Regions from separate parts of the Homo sapiens genome. Here region 2 is linked to region 1. Evidence: promoter capture Hi-C in human tissues and cell types (Jung and others, 2019). All regions are on one chromosome and are shown on one strand. The core of a region is centred on a gene start or on the middle of the fragment in contact, and the rest is flanking DNA. Distances in the headings are between cores, read along the strand shown.

Evidence for each region. The method cuts DNA at HindIII sites, captures the fragments that hold promoters and counts their contacts. A contact is called where the count stands out against the background at its distance.
Region 2: a contact is called between a fragment that was not itself captured here and the fragment with the promoter of EFCAB13 in region 1, in 1 of the 25 tissues and cell types used here (mesenchymal stem cells).

What each region holds. Positions count from the first base shown.
Region 1 is chr17:47,321,599-47,327,910 of GRCh38, reverse strand. It overlaps EFCAB13 (EF-hand calcium binding domain 13), which reads right to left and starts at 3,956. Exons shown (of 25, transcript NM_152347.5): 1 at 3,837-3,956; 2 at 3,388-3,457; 3 at 1,524-1,685. EFCAB13-DT (EFCAB13 divergent transcript) reads left to right here and starts at 4,010. Exons shown (of 3, transcript NR_110880.1): 1 at 4,010-4,222. RefSeq lists enhancers at 3,168-3,347, 3,388-3,477 and a silencer at 3,818-4,227. The HindIII fragment of the contact is 8,264 bases long and covers 112-6,312 here.
Region 2 is chr17:47,369,333-47,375,874 of GRCh38, reverse strand. EFCAB13 (EF-hand calcium binding domain 13) reads right to left here. Exons shown (of 25, transcript NM_152347.5): 11 at 5,367-5,438; 12 at 909-1,403. It also overlaps the pseudogene LOC100421523. Among named protein-coding and RNA genes, the nearest start is that of EFCAB13, 49 kb to the right of the region's middle. The HindIII fragment of the contact is 5,598 bases long and covers 1-4,130 here.

The DNA.
Region 1 (6,312 bases), core at 2,707-5,206:
TAAAGACTTGAAGAGGTCAAGTTTCCCAAGATCACACAGCCAGCAAATAGTAGAGACAGAATTTGAATTCAGACAATTTAACTCCAAGCCTGTGGTCTTCAGTCCCATAGAACATTGCCTTTCAAAACAATGCTACTGCAAACAAAAGATGGTGTAGGCCGGGCGCAGTGGTTCACGTCTGTAATCCCAGCACTATGGGAGGCCGAGGTGGGCGGATCATGAGGTCAAGAGATTGAGACCATCCTGGTCAATATGGTGAAACCCCGTATCTACTAAAAATACAAATCAATTAGTTGGACGTGGTGGCATGCGCCTATAATCCCAGATACTCAGGAGGCTGAGGCAGAATCGCTTGAATCTGGGAGGCGGAGATTGCAGTGAGCCAAGATCGCACCACTGCACTCCAGCCTGGGATATACAGTGAGACTGTCTCAAAAATAAAAAAAAAGGCCAGGTATGGTGACTCACATCTGTAATCCCAGCACTTTGAGAGGCCAAGGCAGGTGGATCACGAGGTCAGGAGTTCAAGACCAGCCTGGCCAAGATGATGAAACCCCGTCTCTACTGAAAATACAAAAATTAGCCGAGTGTGGTGGCACGCACCTATAATCCCAGCTACTCAGGAGGCTGAGGCAAAGAACTGCTTGAACCCAGGAGGCAGAGGTTGCAGTGGGCCAAGACCACGCCACTGCACTCCAACCTGGGTGCAAGACTCTGTATCAAAAAAAACAAAACAAAAGAAAACAAAACAAAATAAAGAAAGAAAAGATGGTGTAGCCTCACTTCAAACTCAAGACTTTCACATTATGCAAATGTGATAACCAACACTTAGAAATTCCTCAAATTTTCATATTTTCAACTCACATCTGAGTTACATTTTATGAGCTATTTATCACAGTGCTAGCTATATTACATTATATTACATTGCTAGTTATAATCATCAGTCTTTTTCTTGTAAAGTTTAACTGCAAGTATTAATATTCTAATGAAGACAGAGTACTTAAAATCATTTTTATTTATTTCTGACATATGTTTATAGTCATTATTTTTCAATGTGATATGTCCAACATTCCTGGAATTCAAAATATGTTAAAATAAAATAGAACCACATTGAAAATACTCATCTCAGAAAATACTGGAAATCTATGCAGGTCTCCCCAGTAACCCATCCTACGTAATCTCTTCTAGATCTTCTCCAACCAGTTCAATATTTACCTCTAAACTACTGTGCATAGCACTTACTGCCTTCACTATTCTTGTCTTCACTATTTAACTGACATTAATCATTTGCCTTGTATTTGTATTTTTCATATGTATAGCTCCTATACCAACTATAGCCTAAATTTATAAAGAACTGGGACTGGTAACTTATCATTCTTAAAATTATTTCTCACAGTATCAAATACAATGGTATATATATAATGAAGGAAAGAGTAGAGGAAAGGAGGAATGGTATGGAGGGAGGGGAAAAGAGAGGGAGAGAGGGATGAATGAACAAATTCCCTTCCTACTAAGCTACTCACCAAGATTTCTTAAATCATCAAAGTGCTTAATTAAGCAGAGTTGACACGTTTTGAATAAATCTTGAAAGGAACAATTGTTCTGTAATTTATTGACGAGATTATCAAAAAGTTGGCAGGTCTTAATTTGCTGGATGAATCAGGTACCGCATAAGCCTCTCCAAACTTAAAAGAAAAAATTAACTTAGAAAGTCTATTCCCTGTAACTCTGACAATATAATTTTTCTCAACTATTTCAATCCTGTCTTCTATCGGTGAACTTGCAGGAACAAATCAAGAGAAATGGAGGGAGTCGTATCCCTTTTCTCCAGTCATCTATCCATTCACCTTTCTATCCATGAATTCAACGTATATGTCTGCATGCTTAGTGTGCACTAGGTTCTCTCCTAGGCTCTAGGGATATACCAATGAACAAAATATATATATGCTATATATATATATATATATATATATATATATATATATATTTTGTTTATATATATATAAAATCTGCCCTCATGAAGCTTATGTTCTAGTCAGGGAGTGAAATAATAAAATAGAAAAATAAAACATATTGTATGTTATCTGCAATAAGTACAAAAAAAAAAGTAAAGCAGGGAGGGGAATATGAAATGTAGTATAGGGGAAGAGATGCAGGGAACAGAATGGGTGGCCAAGGAAGACCTTACTGAGAGGGAGACTTTTGAGTACAGACCTGCAAGAACTGAAGTAGGGAGCTGATTAATATCTTAGGGAAGAGCATTTCAGCCAGAAAGAAAAGTAAGTACAAAAGCCCCGAGGCAAGAAGAATGTTCAAGGAATAGTGGGAAGGCCCCAGGAGGCTGAAGCAGGAGAGATCAGAGAGGCTAAGTGAAAGTGGCATATCATGGAGGACCCCTAGATGACAGTAAGAACTGTGGCTTGTACTCTGAAGGAGTGACAAGCATTGAAAGAGTTCTGAGGAGAAGGATTACATAATCTGAAGTTCTTTCTGAAAGGATCACTCTGGTTACTGTGAGGAGGGAAATCAGGTAGGTCTGGGTTCCTGAATGCCAAGTGAAGAAAGTACTTCAAGAGTGAGCAATCAGGCTGTGCATGGTGGCTTATGCAGGTAATCCCAACACTTTGATGCGGGGGTGGGGGTCTAAGCAGGAGGGCTGCTTAAGGCCAGGAGTTCAAGACCAGCCTGGGCAACAGTGAAACTCCCACCTCTACAGAATTTTTTTTTTAATCAGCTGGACATGGCGACCTTAGTCCCAGCTACTCCAAAGACTGAGCCAGGAGGATCTTTTGAGCCCAGGAGTTTGAAGCTGCAGTGGGCTATGATTGCACCACTGCACTCCAGCCTGGACGACAGAGACCTTGTCTCAAAAAAAAAAAAGGGGGGTGGGGTGGGCGGTTAAGATCAGTACTGAATGGTTCGCTAGGTTTCACAACACGGAGGACACTGACAAACTTGAAAGGAGCCATCTGGGTGGGGTGGTAAGGAGACAATGTCGTCAGAGTGAGTACAAGAGAGAACGGGGTAAAGAAATTGAACCCAGCCAGTAGGGTAGGCTCTTTCAAGGAGTTACGTTGTTAAGAGAAATAAGGCAGTAGCTGAGAGGAAAATGGGGCTGTGAGGCTTTAAGATGAGAAAAACAAAGGCGTCTTCACTGAAGCATGACTCTGTATGACATCCTTTCACAAAATACCTTCCTCTTTCCTCTCATGCCACATTTCCCTCACAAGCCGCCCGACTCGCTCGCTTTTCTCTCGCCAGAGGGACTGAAAACGTCATTAATACCAACTGCATACACAACTCCATTGCAGCTACTGCCATTCATGAACGTTCAAACTTTCGTCACCCTGTTTTCATATTTGTGTAACAAACGTCGAGTGAACGAACCTCCACCTCTTCCAAGAACCCACGCTGAGGAGGCTTCCCATAGACCCTGCTCTTACGAAGCCAACGACTTCTACAGGAAGAAAGAGGACCTGTAAGCTAGCGAGTGAACGACCCGCAAGATGGAAATGAGTGTGCTAATAGAGGTCTCCGCCTCCCGCTGAAGGAGCAGGGAAGTGACACCACCCCCGGGACCGCCAGCCTTCTACAACAACCACCATTTCTGAGGAACCACCTGATCAGTCTCAGTCACCCTTCAATCTGCCCCTTTGTCCCACTCAGTCCCCTCACTGTTCCTTTCTGGAACCTTCCTTCACCCAGCCCCACCACTGTTCTCCTTCCTCCCTCGCACCCTACTGCATTCTCCACCCTCCACCTCGAAGGCTCCCCTCCCAACTCCTCAGCGGGTCTCGCCTCCCCTCCCCACCTCTGTCCCCCAAGGGTCCCACTACCGGCCCGAGCTGCCCTCCCTTCCTCTCGGCTGGAGGCCCCCGCGCTCTCTGTGGTCAGCCCCTGCCGCCCCTCGGGCGGCGCTGCTCTAGCTCTGCAGCCTTCCCAGGATCCCGCGCCGCGCGGCCCCGCCCCCGCGGTCACCTGACCGAGCCCGACGCTCCGCCCACCGACCACCCCGAGCGGAGCGGGCCCAGGACCCTATCGGCTGTCGAGCCGGTGCTGCCGCGGCCACCGCCACCGCCCAGGGGCTCCGGGGCTGTGGGGAGCGGCTGAACTCAATACCGCCTCCGCGCTGACTGGAAGGCACTGCGGCCGCGCCTGCCTGCCCCACCTCGTAAGGGCCTGTGACCTCACGAGGCCAGCCGCCGGGCGCTGCATTCGAGCGGTGGGGCTCCTGTCCGTGCGCTTTCCTCCCGCAGCCCCGGCCGGGATTCCGCCCTCCGTCCTTGCCACCCGCTCGCCACTCTTCCCTAATCGCTGTTCATTCTCCGGTGCGCTGTCCCGCCATGGTCTGACCCCACTTCAATCTTACCTTCGGTCCGTCCTTTGAACACCCCGACCCCCGACCCCTTTCTTCCAAAACATTCCATCCTTCTTGGCTTCTGCTACTCAATAATGGACAGCAGCTCGAAGGCCATGTGTCCCACGGCTTTGCTGAAATTTGTCTCGGGTTGCCTTTAAGGAGACTGTCGTTTCCTTTTGAAAGAGATACTTTGGTTGGTTTGGTTTTCTTCTGTGTGTTTGTTTTTCCTATGTATTTATCGTATGCAGTTGGGCAAAATACTTAACGCTCCCTGAGTCTCGATTTTCTCATTCTTCCAGGGTTGTGGGAATTCAAAAATATATACGTAGTGCTCAATAAATGTTACAATATTTAATCCCTTCCGTGATACTACTGTGTTCATTTACATCTTAAACCTTGCTTTGTAGGCATTCTTTAATATTTTATTTAGATTTTTATTATTATTAAATATATGTACAAATCATAATTGTAAATATTTAATGGGGTACAATGTTATATTTTAATATATGTATACAATATGGAACGACTAAGTCAAGCTTAACATATCCATCACCTTGTTTAACGTTTTTTATGGTGAGACATTTGAAATTTACTCTTAGCAGTTTTGAGATATACGATATATTATTATTAGCTATAGTCACCACACTATGCAATAGATCTCAGAAACTTGCTGCTTTTGTCTGACTGAACCTTGTACCCTTTGAACAGCATCTCCCCATCCTGCATCTCCTACCCGCCCCGTCCCTTTCCAGCCTCTAACAACTATTCTACTGTCTACTTCTATGAGTTTGACTTTTTAAGATTCCACATATAAGTGAGATCATGTGGTATGTGTCTTTCTGTGCCTGGCTTTTTTCACTTAGTATGTCCTCCAAGTTGATTCATGTTGTCACAAATGACAGAAATTCTTTTTTAAGGCTGAATAGTATCCATTGCATATGTTGATTCATGTTGTCACAAATGACAGAAATTCTTTTTTAAGGCTGAATAGTATCCATTGCATATGTTTACTACATTTTCTTTATCCATTCATCCATCGATGGACACAGGTTGATTCCATTATCTCAGCGATTGTGCATAATGCTGAAATGAACATGGAAGTGCAAATAAGTCTTTGATATACTGATTTCAGTTACTCAATATATGCCCAGAAATAGCATCGCTGGATCATATGGTAGTTCTATTTTTAATTTTTTGGGAAACCTCCATATAGTTTTCCATAATGGCTGTAATAACACTAACAGTGTAAAAGGTTTCTCCACATCCTCAGCAACACATTTTTTTCATCATTTTGATAATAGCAATTCTTTTTTTTTTTTTTTTTTTTTTTTTTTGAGATTGAGTCACTCTGTTGCCCAGGCTGGAGTGCAGTGGCACAATCTCAAATCACTGCAACCTCCATTCCTGGGTTCAAGCAATCTTCCTGCCTCAGCCTCCCAAGTAGCTGGGATTACAAGCATGTGCCACCACACTTGGCTAATTTCTGTATTTTTAGTAGAGATGGCGTTTCACCATGTTGGCCAGGGTGGTCTCAAACGCCTGACCCTCAAGTAATCTGCCCACCTCAGCCTCCCAAAGTACTGAGATTACAGGTGTGAGCCACCACACCCAGCTTAATAGCCATGCTAACAGGTGTGAGGTGATATTGTAATCTTATTTTGCATTTCCCTAATAATAGTGATTTTTTTTTTCGCAAACCTGTTGGCCATTTGTATGTCTTCTTTTAAGAATGGCTGTGTCAGGCTGGGCATGGTGGCTCACACCCATAATCTCAGCACTTTGGGAGGCCAAGGTGGGAGGACCGCTTGAGCCCAAGAATCTGAGACCAGCCTGGGCAACATAGTGAAGCCTCATCTCTACAAAAAAAAATTTTTTTTAAAAGTCTATTCAGATTATTTGTCTATTTTTAAAATCAGGTTATTTGCTTTCTTGCTACTGAGTTTCTTGTATAT
Region 2 (6,542 bases), core at 82-2,581, 51 kb before region 1:
ATACCTGAAGTACTATGAATATTATATATTTAAATTACAGCACTCTAAGCAAAAATTTCACACAGATTTCCTACTTGTTTAAATGTTTAATAAATTACAAAATAAACGTTTCCAAAAGAAACCAGGCCTTCTACTTTCTAGGAAATATTAATGATTGCAATTAATCACTGAATAAGTTTCTCAGGAAAAGTTAAGCTCCTCCCTAAAGAGGGCATCTGGAAAGGAATTATCATCAAAATCACAATATTATATCCATTAGTCTATGTGTCAGAAGTGGCAGGCCGGACGTGGTGGCTCATGCCTGTAATCGCAGATCCTTGGGAGGCCAAGACGGGAGCACTACTTGGGGCCAGGAGTTCAAGACCAGCCTTGGGAACATTATGGGACCCCCGTCTCTATGAAAAAAAAAAAAAGTTAGCTGGGTGTGGTGGCATGTTCCTATGCTCCCAGCTACATGAGAGGCTGAGGAGGTGGGAGGATCACTTGAACACAAAAGGTCGAGGCTGCAGTGAGCTAGGATCACGCCACTACACTCCAGCCTGGTTGACAGAGTGAGATTCTGACTCAAAAAATAAAAAATAGACATACTATTCAGTGGCATTAATCACATTTACAAAGTTGTACCACCATCACTACTGTACATTTCCAGAATTTTTGCATAGGCATGGTGGTTCACGCCTATAATCCCAGCACTTTGGGAGGCCAATGCAGGAGGATTGCTTGAGGCCAGGGGTTTGAGACCAGCCTGGGTAACCCTGTCTCTATAAATAATTTAAAAATTAAAAAAAAAAGAAGTGGTGGTTACCCAGGGTGTTAACAATTGAAATGCTTACAACTATCTAATAATTGATTCATTCTGTTCATTTCTGTGATGACTGAAGAACTCAAGAACCTAGATTTTTACTTACCCAGAGTACTAATTGCAGTTTTTTCCGTAGACGAAACCTGTTTTTGGAGACTGGAATGCTTTCTTACAGCTGGCTTCTGAAGTTTTGGGATACTAGAAATATCACTTTTATCCAGAGACTTACTGAGGCTTGTACTACTCTTCAAGCTTTGTGGTTTAGACTTTGAGTCATGAATTTCACCCTTCTCTGAATGTTTTTTAAAGTTTATGCCATTCTTTGAATATGGTTCTTGGACTCCTACATTACTGCTGCCAACCCCACCCAGAAATTTTCTTATTTGCCAAGTATTTTTTGGTCTTTTAGATTCAAGGTCATCATTCTCCATAATTTTGCTATAATATTGGTTGCTTTTTTTATTTAACTTTTTGGATATTGAAGGTTCAGGGAGTTTGGAAGACAAACTATTTTTCTTCTTATATTTTAGATAGCATCCTGCTACACTTGATAACTTTCTGTCTGAAGTAATTTCATTCAAAGGTGATCCTTCTGTAATTGCTAAATAAGAGAAATATACAATTATTTCATTTACCTGTATAATTTGCAATACATTTCAAAAATAACAACTAAGTCCTCATGAAAACTATTCAAGAAATTATCAGTTTCTTAAACATATAAAACAAACCAAAAAAATTAAAGAACTGACAGTCAAAAGATTGGACTATTAACTAGGTCAAATGTAATGTGCTGCTTTAATATATTTACATATTCCCATCCAAAGCTATTTAAAGTTACAGTAAAACTAAAATGATAGCCTAATGAAGTATATGGTTCTCATTCCCCACTCCTTCCCAATTGACAAAGATAATAGATTAATAAGCTAATACAGATAGAAATTCCTTACTTATAAAAGGCAGAACTATGAGGAAAGGGGAGATTTTATTTATAAAATTAGAACTTAAGTAATTACTCTCCTAAATATTCTTGGTATTTGTGGAGGAAAAAATAACTTCATATATAAAACAACATCTTTAGAAAATTATTAACACAATGCCCCAAACTGAGACTTCATTTACAAAATTTATCTGATGTTTCAGAATCTTATCTTACATTTTAATAACACATTTTAAAGTATTTCAAATGTTATAATATTTGATCCTCAAAACAACTCTATGAGACTGTCACGCAGCAGCAATATAATCTCAACTATGAATAAATTTTGCCTAGAGGAAATAAAAAAGTTTCTTATCTTAGACTCTATGAGAATTAACAATTGAAAATAATTAAATGAAAATATTTTAATATTAAAGTCTGAAAATACTTAAAGATGGTGCTATATATGTATCTCTAAGTGCACTATGTATCAGATAAATAGGTTAGTGAGCAGGTAAAAATATAATCTTTGACACTTCTGATTTAGGCTTTTGGACCACACCAAACAGCCTGCCCAGAATCTCTGATTCTCACTGATTAAGGGCTTTCCCAGTCCTTCAAATGCAGAGACATCAACATAAGGCAACAAGAAACATGAAAAATCAAGGAGACATAATACTACCAAAAGAGCACAATAATCTCCTGATAGCTGACCCCAAAGAAATGAAGATACAGAAACTTCCTGACAGAATTCAAACTAATTGTCTAGAGAAAGTTCAGGGAATAAAATTAATGACATACAGAGAAAAAAATTCAGTGAAATCAGGAAAACAATAAATGACCAAAAACAGAATTTTACAGAGACACTGAAATTACACAAAAGAAAATAAATAAACAAAAATCAAGAGCTGAAAAGTGTAATGAAAGAAATGCAAAATACAATAGAGAACATCAACAACATAACTGATCAAGCACAAGAATGAATCTGTGAACCTGACAACAAGTTATTTGAAAATATATAGTCTGCGGTGAATAAAATAAAAAGAATGAAAAATAATGGGGAAAGCTTACAGGATTTATGGGACAGCATCCAAAGAGAAAATAGTCAAGTTATAAGAGTTTATGAAGGAGAAGAGAAAGACAAAAGAGTAGAAAACTTACATAAAGAAGAACAGAAAACAATCCAAATTTGGGCAAATATATAAATATCCAGGTACAGGAAGGCCAAATGCCTCTAATCAGATGAATTCAAACAAGACTACACCAAGACATATTATAATCAAACTGTTAAATATCAAGAACAAGAGGGAGATTCTGAAAATAGCAAAAGTAAATAACATATACGTTCCAATAAGGACAGCAAATTTCTCAGCAGACACCTTATGGGTCCATAGAGAATGGACTATATATTCAGAGTACTGAAGGAAATAAACTGCCAACCAATAATACTGTACCTAGAAAAACTGTCCTTCAGAAATGAAGATAAAGACTTTCCCAGACAAAAGTTGAAAGAGTTCATCCCCTATATTTGTCTTACATGAAATTTCAAAAAGTGTTCTTCAAGCCAAAAGAAAAGGATGCTGTTTAGTAACACAAAAAATAAATGTGTAAAACTCACTGGTAAAAGTAAGTACACAGTCAAAGTCAGAATACACTAATACTATAATGGTGGTGTGCACTTCACTTACATAGTATGAAGGTTAAAAATAATAAAAGCTACAATGATTTGTTAAGGGAAACAATATAAAAATCTGTAAATTGTGACATCAAAAATTATAAATGCAGAAGGAGAGATGAGGTAAAAGCATAGTTTGTTTATGCAAGCAAAGCTAACTTGCTATCAGCTTAAAATTGCCTGTCATAACTACAAGATATTTTGTAAGCTTCAGAGTAGCCACAAATCAAAAACCTACAGTAAATACACAAAAGATAAAAAAGTAAAAAAAAATCAACAGAGAAAAATCAGTCACAAAAGAAGAGAAAAATAAGGAAACAAAGGATCTATGAAACAAGCAGAAAACAATTAACAAAATGGCAGTAGTAAAATCCTTCCATATCAATAACTACCTTGAATGTAAATGAATTAAAATCTCCAAAGAAAAGACATAAAGTGCCATGTGGAACTGTGAATCAATTAAATGTCTTTCCTTTATAAATTACCCAGTCTCGGGTATGTCTTTATTAGCAGCATGAGAAAAGACTAATACAGCAACCAAAACAGTATGTATAAAAATAGACACAGAGGCCGGGCACAGGGGCTCACACCTGTAATCCCAGCACTTTGGGAGGCTGAGGCAGGTGGATCACCTGAGGTGAGAAGTTCAAGACCAGCCTGACCAATATGTTGAAACCCCATCCCTACTAAAAATACAAATATTAGCCGGGCATGGTCATGCATGCCTGTAATCCCAGCTACTCAAGAGGCTGAGGCAGGAGAATCGCTTGAACCCAGGACGCAGAGGTTGCAGTGAGCTGAGATCACGCCACTGCACTCCAGCCTGGGTGACAGAGCGTGACTCTGTCTCAAAAAAAATGGACACAGAGAGCAATGGAACAGAATAAAGAACCCAGAAATAAAGTCACATATTTACACCCAACTGATCAACTGTTGGTTTACACCCAACAAAGCAACAAAGCCAACAAAGCAGTCAAGAATATACACTGAGGAAAGGATACCCTCTTCAATAAATGGTGCTGGGAAAAGTGGATAACCATATGCAGAAGAATGAAACTAAACCCCTATCTCTCATCATATACAAAAAACAACTCAAGCTGGATTAAAGACTTAAACATAAGACCTGAAACTAAAAAACTGTTTGATGATAACATAGGGAGAAGTCTACAGGACATTGGTCTAGGCAAAGATTTTATGACTAAGATCTCAAAAGCACCAGCAACAAAAACAAACATAGACAAATGAGACTATATTAAACTAAAAAGCTTCTGCACAGCCAAAGAAATAACAGATTGAAGAGACAACATCTTGAATGGGAGAAAATATTTGCAAACTATTCATCTGAGAAGGGATTAATATCCAGAATTTATAAGGAATTCAAGGAATTCAAACAACAGTAAAAAAAAAAAAAAAAAAAAACAACCATTAAAAACTGGGCAAAGAGCCAGACGCGGTGGCTCACGCTTGTAATCTCAGCACTCTGGGAGGCTGAGGCAGGTGGATCACCTGAGGTCAGGAGTTCAAGACCAGCCTGACCAACATGGTGAACCCTCTCTCTACTAAAAATACAAAACTAGCTGGGCATGGTGGCATATGCCTGTAATCCCAGCTACTTGGGAGGCTGAGGCAGGAGAATCACTTGAGCCCAGGAGGCAGAGGTTGCAGTGAGCCAAGATCGCACCACTGCACTCCAGCCTGGGCAACAAGAGCAAAACTCCGCCTCAAAAAAAAAAAAAAAAAAAACAAACAACAACAACAACAAAAAACTGGGCAAAGAATATGCATAAACATTTCTAAAAAGAGGACATGTAAATAGCATTTTGAGTATTATATTTTATCTCCTTGATTTAAGAGGGTAAATTATTCAGAGAAGGTTTTCAAAACCCTTTATAAAATAAAACTTATAAATTAAGATTTAATGTAAAGACTTTAATTATAAACAAAACTTGTCATAGCAACAAGAGCTCACTTACAAACATCCTCATACTGTTCCTGTAGCTCATTCAAAGTAAATATAATATCCCCAATATCCACCATGTGGTTACCTGTAATAGAATAAGTTCAAATACTGTATTTACTTTTGAACATAGATATATCTGCCATCCTATTCTAATATGAAAACAACACAGAATGTGTGGCAAGTAGGAACAAAGAGCCAACTATTACAAAGTCTTGAATAAAATCTGAAATCATGAATTAATAACTCAGTACACGCCCAACATAAGAGTAAGACCATGGTCTTTTCTCCTTAATAAAAGAGTTTTTCATCAAAAGAAATAGTCATGTTTTAAGCTCTTATGCTAATCAGGATATTTTTTCATTTTACATGTTTTTTAGAGTTTATTACAGGTATTTATTTACTCTTTTGACTTCATTTCTAGATTGTGAACTCCTCAAGAACAGAGGATGTGTTTTTCCTTTGTTTCCCCAATGCCTCGCAAAGTACCTACTTCTTATCACTGAAAATTATTTTTGGCTGAACAAAATATACAGAAGGTGATTTAAAAAACAATGTAATGTCTACATAGTGAATAGCAAACAACGATTTACTTTGTACCTTCTCTGTGTCCAGCACTCTTATAACTTCCCATTATTCCTGCCCCTGCCCGCCTAAGACCATTTTACTTCTTGGATAATGCATGATTGAGGATGTGTTCAGATGCAGTCACCTTGAATAATGTCATTTCAATTGTGCACAGAGGTAGAAAATGCTTTGCCCAATAGTTCTTGCCTCCATATATTTGATTTTGCTTGCCATCCAAGATGAAAAAGACTGAAAATTTACTTATCTATAATAGTGATGGTTTTTTCTTCAGTCTATTCATAAGAAATCAACTGTTCAATAATATGCATAAGTGAAAACTGAGAGGAAGAAGCAAATTTTTATTGTTTTCCAGAAACAGGAAGATATGTTTATTTTACTGTCCAATTATTTCCTTTAAAAAGTTGAATGTTTGATAAAATAAACTTTTGGTACCATAGAAACCTTTCAACATCTACAATGACATATTATTACTATGCACAACTTCAAAAACAAATGCCTCCAGCTCCAAGTAAAGTGATGTTGAACATCCTGACTATAGTTCGGCTGTAGGAAATTTCTTGTATTGCCAATGGTTTCCTCGCCTTGGAAAAAAATACACAATTGA